Regions from separate parts of the Homo sapiens genome. Here region 1 is linked to region 2. The links are contacts of gene promoters, found by promoter capture Hi-C in blood cells and fetal thymus (Javierre and others, 2016). All regions are on one chromosome and are shown on one strand. Each heading gives the region's core, a stretch centred on a gene start or on the middle of the fragment in contact. The rest is flanking DNA. Distances are from core to core; before and after follow the strand shown.

Region 1 (3,228 bases), core at 137-2,636, 250 kb after region 2:
AGAAAACTGCATCACACGTAATTTAACAAGAACCACTTTGGGCTGTGGTAAATGCAACTTCTAAGGCTACTTCAGAGGTGTTGTAAGAGTCTGCTTTCTGGCATTAGAGCTTCAAGATTCTTTTAAAAAAAAAAGCTACTGTTTTTATTTCTGAAGCTTCTGGTTCTTGAGTGTCTGTCTAGAAGTTGGTTGGTTGTTTAGTGATTCAATGGTCTTATTGGACCCCCTCTAGTTTTATAGACTGTTTTACATTTTCCTTTTCTAATAGGTAGATCCCTGTATTCTGCAGGGACCATGGCCAGTTTAGTAAACGTCTGACTGTAATACCATTCCACTGGCATAGGGACAGACACATGTGCACTCAAAGATCTTGCCACAGTCCGAGTGTCTCTTCAAGTCTCATTACTACATTTATGTTCTCAGCATGCATTTTCATAAAGTGTTGCTTTACGAGAGAAAATTGAGAAAATGGTTTGTGAGAGCGTCCAGGGCATCCATCAACTGGACAACAGTAAAATTTCAGTACGGGTTATCAAACCATTTCTTTTTCTTTTTTTTAACTTTTAAGTTGAGAGATATAAGTGCAAGTCTGCAACTTAGGTAAACTTGTGTCATGGGAGTTTGTTGTACAGATTTCATCACCCAAGTATTAAGCCTGATACCCATTAGTTATTGTTTCTGATCCTCTCCCTCCTCCCTCTCCACCCTCCAGTAGGCCCCAGTGTATGTTGTTCCTTTCTATGTATCCATGTGTTCTCCTCATTTAGCTTCCACCTGTGAGAACATGCAGTATTTGGTTTTCTGTTCCTGAGTAAATTTGCTAAATATAATGGCCTCCAGCTCCATCCATGTCCCTGCAAAAGACATGATTTTTTTCTTTTTTATGGCTGCATAGTATTCCATGGTGTATATGTACCACATTTTCTTTATCCAGCCTATCATTGAAGGGCATTTAGGTTAATTCCATGTCTTTCCTATTGTGAATAGTGCTGCAATGAGCATACGCATGCATGTGTCTTTATAAGAGAATGATTTATATTGCTCTGGATATATACCCAGTAATGGGATTGCTGGGTTGAACAGCATTTCTGCCTTTAGGTCTTCCAGGAATCACCAAACCATTTATTATTGTTGGGTCTACTATTCCATCCTACAGGCAGTGGCTGTTGACCAAGAACATGCTGAGCGTGGGGCTGCTGGGCAGGATCTTGCACAGCCAAGCACTGTGTGCAGGTTATTGGTCCACACTGCCTGGGACAGCTTGATCACCAACTGCTGGATCAGCTCCCAGGCTGATGGCATCAGGCTGCAGGCTGCTGTCCCTCAGCTGGGGTCCCAGAGGCCCCCACAGGCTTGAGGCAGCCTTGACTTCCCTTGTGGCTGCCAGGATGGCCAGGGGGCCAGCCGCCAGCACTGCTGTCAAGGTTCCCATACAGCCACAGAGGCTGATCATCTATACTACTCTCTGATCTGAACTATGATTATCTGTGAGTCAGTTAGTGAAAGATATTCCAACTATATCTGCTATGCTATGTTCCTTTAATTTAGAAAAAGACAAATATGAAAAACATTGTAACCTCAATCCTGAGTAGAGTAAAGGCAAGAGTATAAAAATTTCTTTGTACGTTTCTCTAATTTATTTTACTTTATTTAACACACAAGGAGACAACATTTCTCTACTTTAAATATCTCAATAAAGAATCTTGGTGACCATTTTCATCAAATGTGTAGCATTTGATGAAATCATATATACTTCCTCCAAAATATTATGATATAGCCTCCTTTGTGACAAAGAAAACTCCACAGAACATAATATTCTTGGAAAATACTGTCTCCAGTTTGACATGCCATAGATACTAGGCATGTTAGGCCTGTACCATAATTCAAGTATTGTCTGGATGGAGCTGGACAGTGAGGCAGCTATCTAATCCTACTAGCCATAATACTTTATTTCATGTTAAGTTCCCACACCAATGTTATGTTTGTCCTTTCCCAAAAATATAGAAAATCATAAAAATATCACTAGTAAAAATTCAGACTGTCATAACATTTAGTTCTTCCTGCAATTTTGGAAAATTATCACAATTTCAATAAAATTTCTAAGAACTTAAAAATAGGAAGAGTATCAACAGTAGTTAAAATTCATGGAAATTCAGTGTCTACACCAGCAATTCCTTGTTTTGCTTTCTTTTCTAAAACTGTCAAGAATAATTGCAAATAAATACCCAAAAGGAAGAGATTATATAGATTATAACTGGCTTATTAATTATTTAAATATTTATTGGCTTGAACTGTGGGTGAACAATTCTTTGCATGAGAAAATGCAGGGAAATTCTAGAACTTTCACAGCTTTGCATAAAGTTATTTCTTCTTCATAGGAGCTTCCTGCATCTTTTTGGACCTTTTGGATGTGAAGTCTCTGATAGCATAGATCTAATTACTCCCAGAATATATACATGCTCACAATGTAGCATCATCATAAATTTGATGGGCTAAAACTGTGCCCACCTAGGTCATCCACCTCTAGACTGCCTAGTACCAGGTTCATACTGTGCATATTTAGTGCCTCTGACTGGTCTGATCCTATATATGAAAAGGGTCTCATTATTATATAACAGAAGCTTGTACATCAAAAGTTGATTCAGCACAAACTGTTACCCCTCCCCACTTATGCCCATATCACTCACTCTTTATTCCACACATATTCTCCCTCTCAAGGCCTTTGGCTTTGGCAATTTCTCACAAAGTAATGTTCCCCTGCAGTTCTTGCCTGATTCAATTAACTTCCTTTTATCAATAGCTGTCATTTTTGTTTGTGTTAGCATCTCCCTTTCTCTGATAAATATTTCACCCTGCTCCAGTCTTGGATTTCTGATGGAACTGTCAATCCACTCATCTCTCCTTATTTGACGTCATTGATAAACATACAAACTGGCCCATTCAATTATGATACCACATTCCCCTAGCTAAAAGATTGAGTCAGAGTTAAGCATATGAACCAAGATGGACCTTATGACCTTTTTGATTTAGACTTGAAAGAAAAGAGAGATGGTGCCATGCTTTCTGGATCATAGATTTCAAGGACTATATATTGGAGACTGTCTACTGTCTTCCAAGTGAAAAAATCTGTCTCAAGAAAAACACCAACCTTAAAAGAAGAAAATGGGGAGAGAGTAACTATGTTTGAGTCCCTGTATTCTAGATCTAGTAACACCTGAAACCAGTTAC
Region 2 (3,414 bases), core at 775-3,274:
TCTATTGCAGTTCTCCTGTCTTGATAAATCGGCTCTGTCTAGGCAGCAGCAAGGTGAACCCATTGGGCGGTTACACCAATAGCTGCTAATTATTTTTTTAATCAATTAAACATGTATCTCTGTTGAAAGTATAAAATTCCTTTTTGGATTAGTTTTGAAAGGAAAAAAAAACCTAAACCTAAACCTCAATTAAGCCTTTACATCTAAATAGCAACAACAGGATATCAATATGACAAGGATGCAATCAAGCAAGGCATTATTGCACTTTTCCCTCCATGAATAATGATAGAATTTCCTGCTTATTAATTGAGCTGTTATAATGAAAACATAACATCATTTTTATAATAGCCAGAAAAGTGATCAACAAAAATTAAGTGATTAAGGGTAACACTCCCTATGATATGGAAACATATCTGCCAAAATGTTCCTTTATTAAATGCTCCTTTATAAGAGTAAAATACATCTTAAGTATATACTATTTTTGATTTCTAAATTATACCCCAATAAAGCTGGAAAAGAAAAAATAAAACATTATTTGATTGTATAAATTTATTGTATTTTTATACATTAAATACATATTTCATAATTTTATTAAAACATAATGCTTATTTTGTGTTAATCTGTATTATATAATATGCACTATTAGTTTAAATAAATTATATGTTAAATAAATGGCTTATCTGATTACACTTTTTTTTGCCAAAATATTTGGGAAACATAAAAAGAACACTAAAGAGAATAATTAGTTATAATTCACAAACCAGAATTTCACATAAATAAAATCATATTTTGTGGGTCTTTTTATTAGAATGTTGAAGGGATAACAGATGTAAAGGCCAAGATAAACAATAAGATGGACAAATTGACACTGCAATTAAATATTGCAATTTATAATGATAATTGAATTAGTTAACCTGATAGCATTTTTAAAAAACTTGTGAGCACAATACTTGCATTATGATAGTTATTCTTTACTTAGCATTATGAAATAACCTTTTGCTTCTTGATGCCCTAACACTTAACAAAGCCTAAGTATAAAAAACAAAAATGGGATATGTAGAAAACTTTTTTAATCTCAAAAAGATGCTTAAATATCAATTAGATTGAGCTTTAGTTTTGTAAGAAAATAGATGTCATAGCTATTTTTATTACTTATGAAATATTAAGTATGCATAATATATTAATTGCAGTTAATGGAAGTAAATATTCCACAGAAGACAATATTTGAGGTCCTCTGTGGGCTAAAAGATGAACCTAACTGCTCTCAAGGGAGATCGACTACAGATAAGAGTTAGGAGGCTACTGAGAAATCCAAAGGCGACTTCCAGAAATCTTTCATGGTCTATAATACAGCAGAGATGTGGCCTGGACTTTGCTTTGTTCCCAGGAGATCAAATCTTTTGAGGTCAAAACAAAGAAACTTGAAATATTGTAGATATAAGTATGACCAGGGGGAACCCAGATACCAGAATCTAACTCATAATATCCAATGTGTCATATATTTACCTATTTTCTCTTTAAATTTTTTTTTAACTTCTAGCTCAACATTATTGAAGAGGAATAAATTTTTTTTGAACTTCTAGTTCAACATTATTGAAGAGGAATATAATGTATTTCCACATCTTCCAAAGGTTTCTGGCATTCCATTTTTATTTCCTGAAATATATCCCTTAAACCATTATAAAATAGAGAAAAACATAAAATAAAATTTGATTAGTGTGAACTTTGGTAGTGTCCAGAAGAGAAGCAATAATTTTACATTCTATCCATCATAGCAGAAATTTGACAATCTAAAATATGGAGGAGACAACTATCAGGATTTTAGCAGACAACATCTATAGAATAGAACATCCAGCAGTTCTTGAATAGCTGAAAATTAACTGACTAGGTTAGAATGAATGTGAGAGGGTTTCCTATACAATTCTGGATATCCTTATGAATGAATGGTTGCATAAGGAAGAATGGTCTTATGTGGGACAAAATTTACTAGGAAATAAAACTTTTTCCGTAAAGCTCTGAAAGGAAGATGTTCAAATGGAAGATGCACTAAGCTATAATCCAAGTGAGAGAGTTGCTGAGATCTAAGGCAAGTAGTTACTTTTCCAATTTATGCTTCAGAGCAAAATGAAAAATAGATAAATATCACATGTTCCCTTAAGCTCAAAATTAAAATGTCTGTATGTAGAATATATATACACATTTCTTGTGAGTCATAGAAGACATCAAACATTAAAGATTTTGATGGAATTATAAGACAAACCAATAAGTAAGCGAACATGTTCCCTATTTGTTGAGTAAAATAATTACATTATTTACTCTATCTTATAGTAAATATACATCATATATAAGATGTTCTATTATCTTGACAATTAGACCAAAATATTAATATTAAAAATAAAATGAATAAATAAAATAACATTATTTTAATATAAATATATGTTTTATTTGCTAAAAATCTTTAATTGGTTTCTCATATCATAAAAAGAATAATGGGTTATTAACAATCTTCTAATTTTCACTTTTATCTTTTGATGAAGTTAAGAGCACCCATTTTATGTTTAGGTGGTAATATCCTTTAATGTATACATGATGAAAAAAAGAAAAATGTATGTTTCATGTGATTGTTTCAACAAAAAAGATAATGATATTTTGCATTAATGGGACACAAAGCAGGTATTATACATTTTATTAGCTGTTTCTCAGTGATGTGGCTTATTGTCTGAAGATATCCTAATTTCTGTTAGATTTAAAGTAAGAGAACTAGTAAATAGGCTGGACTTAGAAAAAAATATTAAAACATAATGCAAACAAGATAGTCAAAACTGTCAGACTGTAGAAGATTTTTAGAATTGTATTGATAATTATATGGATCATGATGAATTATATCTTTTATCTATTTTCCTTAATTATCATTCTACCAAAATATCTTTAAAAGAACAAAAAGGAGAGTGGAAGAAGGAGAGAGAGAAAGGACGAGACATGAACCACACAATGGTCACAGAGTTTGTCCTCCTGGGCCTTTCTGATGATCCTGACCTTCAGATTGTGATTTTTCTCTTTTTATTTATCACGTATATATTAAGTGTTACTGGAAACCTGACTATCATCACCCTAACCTTTGTGGACTCCCATCTGCAGACACCTATGTATTTCTTCCTCCGGAACTTCTCTTTCTTAGAAATCTCATTTACAACCGTATGCATCCCCAGATTTCTGGGGGCAATTATCACCAGGAATAAGACTATTTCCTATAACAACTGTGCAGCCCAACTCTTTTTCTTTATCTTCATGGGGGTGACTGAATTTTACATTTTAACTGCCATGTCCTATGACCGCTATGTTGCCATCTGCAAGCCCCTTCATTACACATCCATCATGAACAGGAAACTCTGCACTCTACTTGTGCTGTGTGCC

The links. The method cuts DNA at HindIII sites, captures the fragments that hold promoters and counts their contacts. A CHiCAGO score of 5 or more calls a contact.
Region 1: a fragment that was not itself captured here is called in contact with the fragment with the promoter of OR6C3 in region 2 in 2 of 17 cell types (neutrophils and total B cells); the score reaches 8.8 in neutrophils.

Annotation. Positions count from the first base shown.
Region 1 is chr12:55,580,940-55,584,167 of GRCh38, forward strand. It overlaps the pseudogene ATMINP2. Among named protein-coding and RNA genes, the nearest start is that of OR2AP1, 10 kb to the left of the region's middle. The HindIII fragment of the contact is 2,465 bases long and covers 155-2,619 here.
Region 2 is chr12:55,328,722-55,332,135 of GRCh38, forward strand. It overlaps OR6C3 (olfactory receptor family 6 subfamily C member 3), which reads left to right and starts at 2,025. Exons shown (of 2, transcript NM_001388498.1): 1 at 2,025-2,086; 2 at 2,936-3,414. The coding sequence starts at 2,980. The HindIII fragment of the contact is 8,486 bases long and covers 1-3,414 here.